Regions from separate parts of the Homo sapiens genome. Here regions 2 and 3 are each linked to region 1. The links are contacts of gene promoters, found by promoter capture Hi-C in human tissues and cell types (Jung and others, 2019). All regions are on one chromosome and are shown on one strand. The core of a region is centred on a gene start or on the middle of the fragment in contact, and the rest is flanking DNA. Distances in the headings are between cores, read along the strand shown.

Region 1 (2,949 bases), core at 290-2,789:
AAAACCCGTCTCAAAAAAAAAAAGAAGAAGCTATCCTTTACCTCCAGCCTCCACAAGGGAAGAGGAAAGATCTTACAATTCTGCTAGGACACAAAGGGGGAAGGAAAGGAGAAAATCCCAGCCCCAGTGTGTCAGGGCCCAGCCAAACCCAGGTATCTCTAACTTCTGCCTGGTTTTAGACTCTCTGGACTCTCAGAAAACCCCCACTGTTTCTAAACCTGAGAATGTTTTGTATGACCCACAGCTCAAGACCTGTGTCTGAGATCAGTTAGCCAGGGGCCCACCCATCCCCCCAGCCCAGTTGCTGCTGAGACCCAGGCGGACACTTCCGGCGTTCACAACGGTCAAGGGCTGCTGAGTGCCCCTTTTCCACCCCCTGCCCCTCTGGTGGCTAGGATGACTCTGAAACATCCCTAGAGGTTTGGTTCTGGGGCCAACCTCATGGTTCAACTCTGCTCAAGCCTGGCTTAAAAGGGGCCGGCCATGACCCCAAACCACGCTAGACAGTTGCCGGTGTGCCCGGGTCCAAGAGGGTTCCCTGAGGCCCTGGCAACGACGGGGTCCCAACAGCAGTTAAAGCCTTGGGAGAGAACCCTCACTAGACCAGGGAGAAGCCAGCCACGGCTTTCAGAGGCAGAGTCCAGGAGCGGGGCTGTGAGAGCAGGGGATCATCAGGGCTGTGGGTTAAGGAGCTCAGGTGGAGGGTTTGCGGGCTAGGAAGCCTAAGCAATAGGAAGCTACGTCTGAGGAGAAACAAGAAAAAAAGGGGTGTAGAAGCCTTTGAAGGAAGTTCAGCAAGAGCTGGGAAAGGCATCTTGGAGACTGAGGGGTTAGGCTGAAGGGAGTGACAGGGAGCTTGGAATTATTAATACTTCTGGAGTCTAAGACTCTCCCAAGCCTGTAGGGTGCGGGGGTTTCTCACTATGTGGCTAGAGACTAGGAGCGGCGGGAGGAATCAAATGGGGCAGTGGGTCCTCCCTTCCAGGACGGGGTAATGAGCAAATGTGACTACTTGCGGGCTCCAGGAACGCCATGCAGGGCCAGAGAGTGGAGGATTCGGGGCCTGAAAATAGTAGGGTCCCTCCCTCCCGGGTGTGAGATGCAACCCCGGGGAACCGCTCGCGTGCTCCTTCCCCGGGCCGCTACTCCGTGAAGCAATGTGAGCCTTGGGGGTTGGAGGCTGCTCTCTCCGTCCCGGGGGTTCCCGGCGCAGCTCACTCGCCGTCCCAGGGGTCATGGCCCAGGGATCCGACAGGTGGGCGGCGCCCGCTCCCACCGCTGGACCGCGCCGGGGCCGGGGTCCTCCATCGCTCCAGGGTCTGAGGGGCCGACTGAGGACACCGCCCCTCCCGGGCCGGGGGCGGGGCGTGAGGAGGGGGCGACCCGTACCCCGCCCCCGCCGGGAAGGGGCCCGCCTCGTGCCCCCGGTTCCGGTTCCGGTCCGGCCCGCGCCCCTCCCGGACACTCACTGATTCGCGCCTCCAGAGTCTCCGGCTCCATCGCGGGCTCCATCCGCCACCGGCCCCCAGCCTCGGCACCGCCCCCCCGCCCCCCGCAGCTCTCGCGGGACCTCCTGGGCACCGCCCTCTGCCGATTAAAGGGGCAACGTCCGAACGGGCGCGCTCGGCACCATAGAGAGGCCAACGAGCTCGCCTAGAGCGTCACCTACTCGCCCAACCCCACCCCCACGCGGCGTCTACGTCGCAGCTGGGACCGGCCGCCTGCTTTTCCGTTCCCGGCGCTCAGGCGGGAGAGGAAGTGGAGATACTGCAGGCTAAGGGCAGCACCATGGAAACCCCAAGGGACGCTCTAACTCGTTCTGCGTCACGGAGATGTCTGTGACCGCCTCCGGAAGAATTCTCTGCGGGCATGTTGCTGAGGGGCTCTGAGGCCACTTCCGGAGCCCTGAGCGGGTACTTCCGCTTAGAGTCGAACGTGGGAGAGTCCCTTAAAAGGGCGATAAGCTACATCCTCATGTACCTTGGCCGCTGTGAAAATGACGAAAATAAATCAGTTTCTTGAGTGCTTACAGTATTCTGGGCATTGTCCTAAGCACTATTTGTAATTAATCCATTTAGTTCTGACTCCTTACAACAAACCCACCAGATAATTAGTCGGCCTGAGGCCGCACAAGTAGCAGAGCTTGAACCCTGTGCCGTCTCCTCCATTCATCCAGCCAACGTTTAATGAACTCTTTGTATTTGCTTTGCTCTGTGATGGGCACAGAAGGAGATAGACAAGGCCAGATATTTATTACAGTGTGATAGGGGAAGCCCACGGGGTAGTGGGAACAAAGGAGGGGGCTCCTCCCCCAAACTGGGGTGGGGTGGGTGGGGGTGTTGTCAGGGGAGGGGTCGTGTCAGGGGAGGGGTCGTGTCAGGGGAGGTTTCAAGAGAAAGTGATACTGTACTTCGCTCAAAGACAGTCGGATTTCTCCACGTAGAGCTGGTGCGAAAAGATATTCAGGGAGAAAAAGTAGGATGAAGGCCGAGGAGGGCGGATCACGAGGTCAGGAGATCGAAACCATCCTAACACGGTGAAACCCCGTCTCTACTAAAAAAAAAAAAAAAAAAAAATTATCTGGGCGCGCCTTTAGTGCCAGCTACTTAGAAGGCTGAGGCAGAAGAATCGCTTGAACCCGGGAGGTGAAGGTTGCAGTGAGCCGAGATTGCGTCACTGCACTCCAGCCTGGGCGGCATAGCGAGACTCAGTCTCAAAAAAAAAAAAAAAAAAAAAAGTAGGATGAGTCCAGGGAGTTGGAAGTATTTCAATACGGCTCCCAGATATCTGCAAATAGATATCTATTTGCAGGAGATATCTTGGAATTAGGCTGGGGCAAGATCACCCAGGTCCCATGTTTTGCTGCCCTTTTTTTTTTTTTTCCCTGTAAGCAACGTTGGAGGTGTCGTTACAGTTTTACGGATGGTAGCAAAGTCAGGCTTTTGTTTT
Region 2 (2,949 bases), core at 251-2,750, 610 kb after region 1:
GCCGGGGCAATGGGCTTCACAGCCAGGGGCCTGCTAGGGTCTCCTAGGGTGGTGGTGATGGGGCAGAAGAGGAGGAGGAGATGAAAGGAAAAATTATGAAGGAGTAAAATGAGCCCAGGGTTCCAAGGCTGCTTGAGATAGGTCTTTGAGGACTGGTGGGGTGGGGTGGGGGTGGCCAGGGCTTTTCAGAGAGGGCAGAGGCTGCAGAAGTCCAGGAGGCAGCCCCTGTGCCAGGGGTGATGAGTGAATGGGGCAGAGGCTCCGTGGGTCTGGGCAGTGCCAGAGGGCACCAGGGGCAGCTTAGGAACCTCTGATCAGGGGCGGGCAGACAGCCACAGGCCTTCCTGTTCAGCTCCCAGCTCATCCTTGTTCACAGAAACTCTGTGTGTTATCTGAGACGATGAAACGTGGTGCTTTGTTTACAGGACTAAGCTTGGAATTGCCTGTCCCACAGCAAGAGGCTATGGAGCTGGGCCACGGAGCAGGTAGGACAGGCAGACCAGGGATGTGCTGAATGCACATCCAGGCTTCTGGAGGGACTCCCTGGGGCAGCAGGGCACCGGCCCTTTCTCCTCCCGCTCCGTCTTGTGTTGGCCTCCAGACCCACCATCGGCCCAGGCTTCCTAGGGGGGCATTCTGTTGGAAGACAGAAGGAAAAAGGAGGGAACGGAATTACTGAGCCCTCCCATCCTGCCATGTGCAGGGATTATCACCCCGATATGGTCTCCATCCTGAGGGGGTGACTCAGGTGCTCTGAGTCTTGTGTGTACCAGAAGGGCAGGGCTGTGGGGGAACATGGTGAGGGGCCTGGCCTCAATGGATGGGAGGTATATATGGGGTTACACGTGAGCCAAGAGCAGGGGTAGTGTAGCCCAAGGAGTGGAGGGGAGTGTTCCAGGCAGGAGAAATAGCTCAGGCAAAGGCTTGGGAGGGAGAGACGGCTGGCACTTTTGTGGAGTCCCGAGAGCAGGCACTCTGCCCTGAGGACAAGAGGAAAGATTTTGATGCAGGCGTGACTGAGTCAGGCCCGCTCTGAGAATGGTCCCCAGGGGTGAGTGCAGGTTGGCTGGGGCTGGCAGGTGGGATGGGGAGAAGAGAGTCCAGTGAGTTGGGGCAGCGATCCTGCTAAAATCTTCCTCCAATGACCTGAATGCCCAGGGGCTTGTTAAACACTCAGATTCAGGGCCTTTCTGATGCAGCAGCTCTGAGAGGGTCCCAGGCATCTGTATTTTTAATGAGAGCCTAGGGAATCCTCATACATGGCCACATTTAGATAAACTCTGCGGAGGTTTATCATCCAGGGGATATGATGGTTTAGCTTGGGCTCAGAGGCCTGACGGCCAAGATGCCCAGCCCTTATGTATCTTTTAAGAGGACTTGAAGTTTTGGAGGGAAGACCACCAAACATATTTACAGCTGTAATCTGGGGTGGAGGATGAGGCCAGGCTGTGAGGAGACACTGAAGGCTGAGAGCAAGAGACCTAGAGAAGCGGAGGCTGTGGGCAGGGACGTGGGAGACAGGGAGAGGCGGGGAGGAGAGAGCCTGGGAGGTGGCTGGGATGGTGCCACTTCTCAGCCCTGGCGAAGGGAGGAGGTAGGTATTGGGGAGCAGTCTTGCATTGGAAGCAAAGTCTGGAAGTCCCATCCAACTCCAGTACTTCCCAGGCATGTGGCTTAGCCCCAGGAACGCCTCTGCCAGTGCCGCTGCTGCCAGATTCTCACTGCGGAGAGTGAGGGGGAGGTTTCAAGATGGAAAAGTGGGGAAGGGAACTATCCAAATGGAGCCAGGGACATGAAAGCACAGACAGGCCAAGTCCCTTGCTTGCGGTCACACAGCTAGGCCTCAAGGCGGGACAGGCTTAGGCGGCAGCCCTTGTTGCCCCAGGCAATGTGGACTAACCCTGCCCGTGGGAGGCACGCAGGCTGGCCTCTCTTCTCCCATTGTGTCTCCTAATTTCCCACCCATGCCTCTGGTTCCTGCGCTTCCTCTCCGTCCCTCTCCCCTTCTCTGGCTGTGGAGCTCTGGGGCTCTTTGTCTGTCCGTTTCCCCTCCTCACCCCCATCTCTGCCCCCTCCCCACCCTCTACTTTCTGCCCTTGTCTGCGTGTCTCTCTCCCTCCCCCTCTGTTTCTCTTTGTCCTGCTCAGGTACAACCACTTTCACCAGGGCCCATCTGAATGACAAGGAGGGCCAACAGGACTTGGACCCCTGGAAAGCGGCCTACAGTTCCTTGGACACCTCCAAGTTCAAGAACCAGGGTCTGTCATCCCCACAGCCCCTGCCCCTGGGAGCCAGCGCTCAAGGCAGCTCCCTAGGGCAGTGCCACTTGAAGGAGATTCCCCCTCCACCCCCGACTGCTGCCAGCAGGGATTCTCTGGGCATGGACCCACAGTCCAGGTCCCTGAAGAATGCGGGCTCTCGATCCTCCTCGAGAGAGAACAGGGCCACCTCGGGAGAGGGGGCTCAGCCATGCCAGGGGACGGATGACGGTCCCAGCTTGGGGGCTCAGGACCAGAGGAGCACGCCCACGAACCAGAAGGGCAGCATCATTCCTAACAACATTCGCCACAAGTTTGGGAGCAATGTGGTGGACCAGCTGGTCTCCGAGGAGCAGGTGTCATAGCAGGGGCCAGGAGGGTGATGCAGAGTCTTATAATGAGGACATAAGATAAACTCACTCTTGAGTACAGAGTCCCTATAATAATACCACTAGAAAGCAGTATCTCCTGAGCATCTGCTGTGTGCCAAACACTGTGCACTGTTTAAACTTCACATATAACAAGTTGTTACATCTTCCCAGCAACCCATGAGGAAGGTACTATTATTGTCCTCATTTTATAGATAAGGAGACCGAGGCTTAGAGGAGTTAAGTCAGTCAACCAAATTCACCTAACTGTGCGAGACGAGGGTGCAAACTGGGTCGGCAGATTCTGGAACTCTGATCCTTAA
Region 3 (2,949 bases), core at 168-2,667, 590 kb before region 1:
CTCAGAGCCTCAGCTAGCTTCCGGCGTCCAGCTGTAGGTCAGTCTAGTCTCACCAGTCCCACTTGTGAACTGAAACTACCAGGAGAGCGGAAACCGGCTCCGCCCCATCCTCCACGACCTAGCAGGTACAGCCTCCAGAACCCGGACTAGCTAAAAGCCTGTGGTCCTCTCCCTGCGCCGCACCCTTGCAGTCAAGGTTTTCTGGCCCTTCCTGTTCTCATGGGACTGAGGGGATGGGCAACCCTGGGGACGAACGAGAGTCCCTTGGTTCTTCCCTCCCCAGGAAGCCCCAAAATCTGGGGACAAGAACCTGGGCTCCAACTCACTTTGTTACCAGATCCACCGGGGTGCCAAGCGGGGGTGGCTCACATCCCTCACTCCTAGCTCAGCTGGGTGGGGTCTTTGATACCTTGCCCCACCCTGTGGCTGCGGGCGCGGGCTCTGGGCGGGAGACAAACACTGGGGTCACGTGGCGGAGGCCCTGGGAAACTCCGGGGAGAGCCGGGGACGGACAGCCCCGGGTAGTAGGACTGGGGCGGCCCGGGCCAGAATTCCCAGACCCCGTGCGAAGACGCACGGGTCCGCTTCCTTCGCTCGGGTCCTTGTTCCGCGTTTACTCCGGTGGCCGGCCCAGGGCACGCCCTCTCCGAGGTACACACTGCTGGTGTACAGGCCCCAGGGAGCGCGCGCGCGGACACGCACACACAAGCACAACACACGCACACACGCCCCCGAGGTACACAGCGCACGCACGCACCGGGCAGGATACCCAGGCCGCCCGCCAGGGAACACACGCCCGCCCTCGGACGTAAACAAACCGCGCACGCACCGCCCGCGGGCGCCGGGCCAGGGCCTGTTCCCACCGAGTCACGTAGGAGCACAGCGCCCCCGCCCCCGCCGGGCGGACGCGGAGATCGCCGGCCTGCGCTGCCCCTTCCTCCCGGCGCCGCCGCCTACCCGCCCGCGCCCCGGGAAGGGGCCCCGTCTCCACCCCCACTCCCCCGAGCTGGCCTCGGCCCCGTCCTCGGCGTCCCCGGGACGGCCGCTCCCTTCTCCCCGCCCCGAGCCGTCCGGGCGATGGAGCTCCGGGAGCCCCGACGGATCGGGCCCGGGCGCCCACCCCAGGCGCATCCCGGGACGCAGAAACCCTGCCGCCTTGGGGTCCCGCGCACCGTCCTCCTGGTCCCGCGTTCCTCACCCGCTTCTGGGCCCGCTTGGTCCGGCGCGCTCACACACGCGCGTCTCGCCGCTGTCCCGGCCGCTGTCCCGATCCGCGCTCCGGTCAGTCTCCCCTCCGCTCTGAGCCGCAGGTCGCTCTGAACCGGGCGCCCGGGAGCGCTGCGCTGAGTTTTGTTGTGGGGCGGGCGGCGCAGGGGGCCGAGGCCGCGCGGAGTTGTAAGGCGAGCTTCCCGGAATTACTCACTCACAGGATTCCTTTCATTCATAAAAACCCAGTCATGCGGTGACGTCACCGACCCGGCCGCCCTCCGGCCAGGAGCGGCCGCTTGGTCCCTCGGCCCCGCCCCCGTATGACCCCGCCCCCTGGAAGCCCCGCCCCCGGGGCTGCCGCGATTCTCTGCCTGGTTCCAGGGCTCGCTGGGTGCGTTCACGTGACACCTCGCGAGAGCCCCGTGGGTGTAGGTGTCATTGGCTCATTTTACAGGTAGTGGTCCTGGCCCTCTTCTTTCGACCTAGACCTTCTGCCTTAATGATCTCATCCAGTCCCGTGGCTTTAAATGACATTTATATGGCTATGAGCCCCAGGTTTGTATTTCCGGAGCGAACAGCTTCTCTGAGTTCCAGACTCATAGCCAGCTGCCCACTCTGCGCATCCAGTGGGTGTCAGATGGGCACTGCAGAGGACTCGGCCCAAAAACCCGCTCCTGATCGTCAGCCCTACCTCTGCTCCCTTGCCACCCCATCTCAGCTGCTCAAGCCAAAACCTTGGAGCCTGGCTCCATCCCTCCCTCTCCCTTCCTCCCCACCTCAGGACTCAAGCTAGCGGTGTCTCCAGGTCTCCTGCATAGGACCATTTCTCACCACCTCCAGTCATGGCACCTGGTCTCGGCACCATCAGCTTACCCGGACAATGGCAGCAGCCTCCGAGGCTCCCTACTTTGCCTCCAAAGTCTTTCTTTCTATACCAGCCAATGTTCTTCTCAAAACAAAGCTCAGGTTGTTTACACACCTTCTTTGGCCACTCTCTCCTCATCCACTGCTCTTCGGCCACAGTGCCCTTCTTTCTGTCCCCCAAACATACCAAGCTCATTCCTGCGACAGGCCCTTGGCACTGGCTGTCTGGTCTTCTGTTCACTTGCCTGACTCTTTCTCATCTTTCACGTCAGCCCGGATGTCACTGCCTCAGAGAGACATTTCCTGACCACCCTGGTTAAAGCAGTCTTCACCTCTGAATTTTTTTTTTTTTTTCGAGACAGGGTCTCACTCTGTCACCCAGGCTGGAGTGCAGTGGCACAATCTCGGCTCACTGCAACCTCCTTCTCCTGGACTCCAGCCATTCTCCCACCTTAGCCTCCCAAGTAGCTGGGACCATAAGCACACACCACCATGCTAGGTTCATTTTTTGTATTTTTTTTTTTTTTTTTTTTTTTTTTTTTTTGTAGAGACAGGGTTTTGCCATGTTGCCCAAACTGGTCTCAAACTCCTGGACTCAGGCAATCCACCCACGCTGGCCTCCCAAAGTAATGGGATTACAGGCGCAAGCCACCGCACCCAGCCTTGAAATTTGTTCTTATATTATCTTAATACTTCTGTAGGGTGTTTCATCATTTATGTATGTGAGTGCTGGTTATTGTCTGTCTTCCCCAACCAGAATGTATGTTTTATGAAGGCAGGCCTTGCTTCTTTTTCTTTTTCTTTTTTTTTTTTTGAGACAGAGTCTCACTCTGTTGCCCAGGCTGGAGTGCAGTGGCATAATCTTGGCTCACTGCA

Evidence for each region. The method cuts DNA at HindIII sites, captures the fragments that hold promoters and counts their contacts. A contact is called where the count stands out against the background at its distance.
Region 2: a contact is called between a fragment that was not itself captured here and the fragment with the promoter of GGA1 in region 1, in 1 of the 25 tissues and cell types used here (pancreas).
Region 3: a contact is called between the fragment with the promoter of MAFF here and the fragment with the promoter of GGA1 in region 1, in 1 of the 25 tissues and cell types used here (neural progenitor cells).

Annotation. Positions count from the first base shown.
Region 1 is chr22:37,607,424-37,610,372 of GRCh38, reverse strand. GGA1 (golgi associated, gamma adaptin ear containing, ARF binding protein 1) reads right to left here and starts at 1,539. Exons shown (of 17, transcript NM_013365.5): 1 at 1,470-1,539. The coding sequence starts at 1,512. RefSeq lists enhancers at 710-819, 534-1,155, 1,760-1,929, 2,080-2,159, a silencer at 1,150-1,599 and a cis regulatory region at 2,904-2,949. The HindIII fragment of the contact is 29,756 bases long and covers 1-2,949 here.
Region 2 is chr22:37,001,502-37,004,450 of GRCh38, reverse strand. It overlaps CIMIP4 (ciliary microtubule inner protein 4), which reads left to right. Exons shown (of 6, transcript NM_001163857.2): 2 at 426-485; 3 at 2,148-2,614. The coding sequence starts at 464. Among named protein-coding and RNA genes, the nearest start is that of CIMIP4, 4.9 kb to the left of the region's middle. The HindIII fragment of the contact is 5,555 bases long and covers 1-2,949 here.
Region 3 is chr22:38,200,462-38,203,410 of GRCh38, reverse strand. MAFF (MAF bZIP transcription factor F) reads right to left here and starts at 1,417. Exons shown (of 3, transcript NM_012323.4): 1 at 1,199-1,417. RefSeq lists silencers at 761-1,200, 1,261-1,590. The HindIII fragment of the contact is 8,533 bases long and covers 25-2,949 here.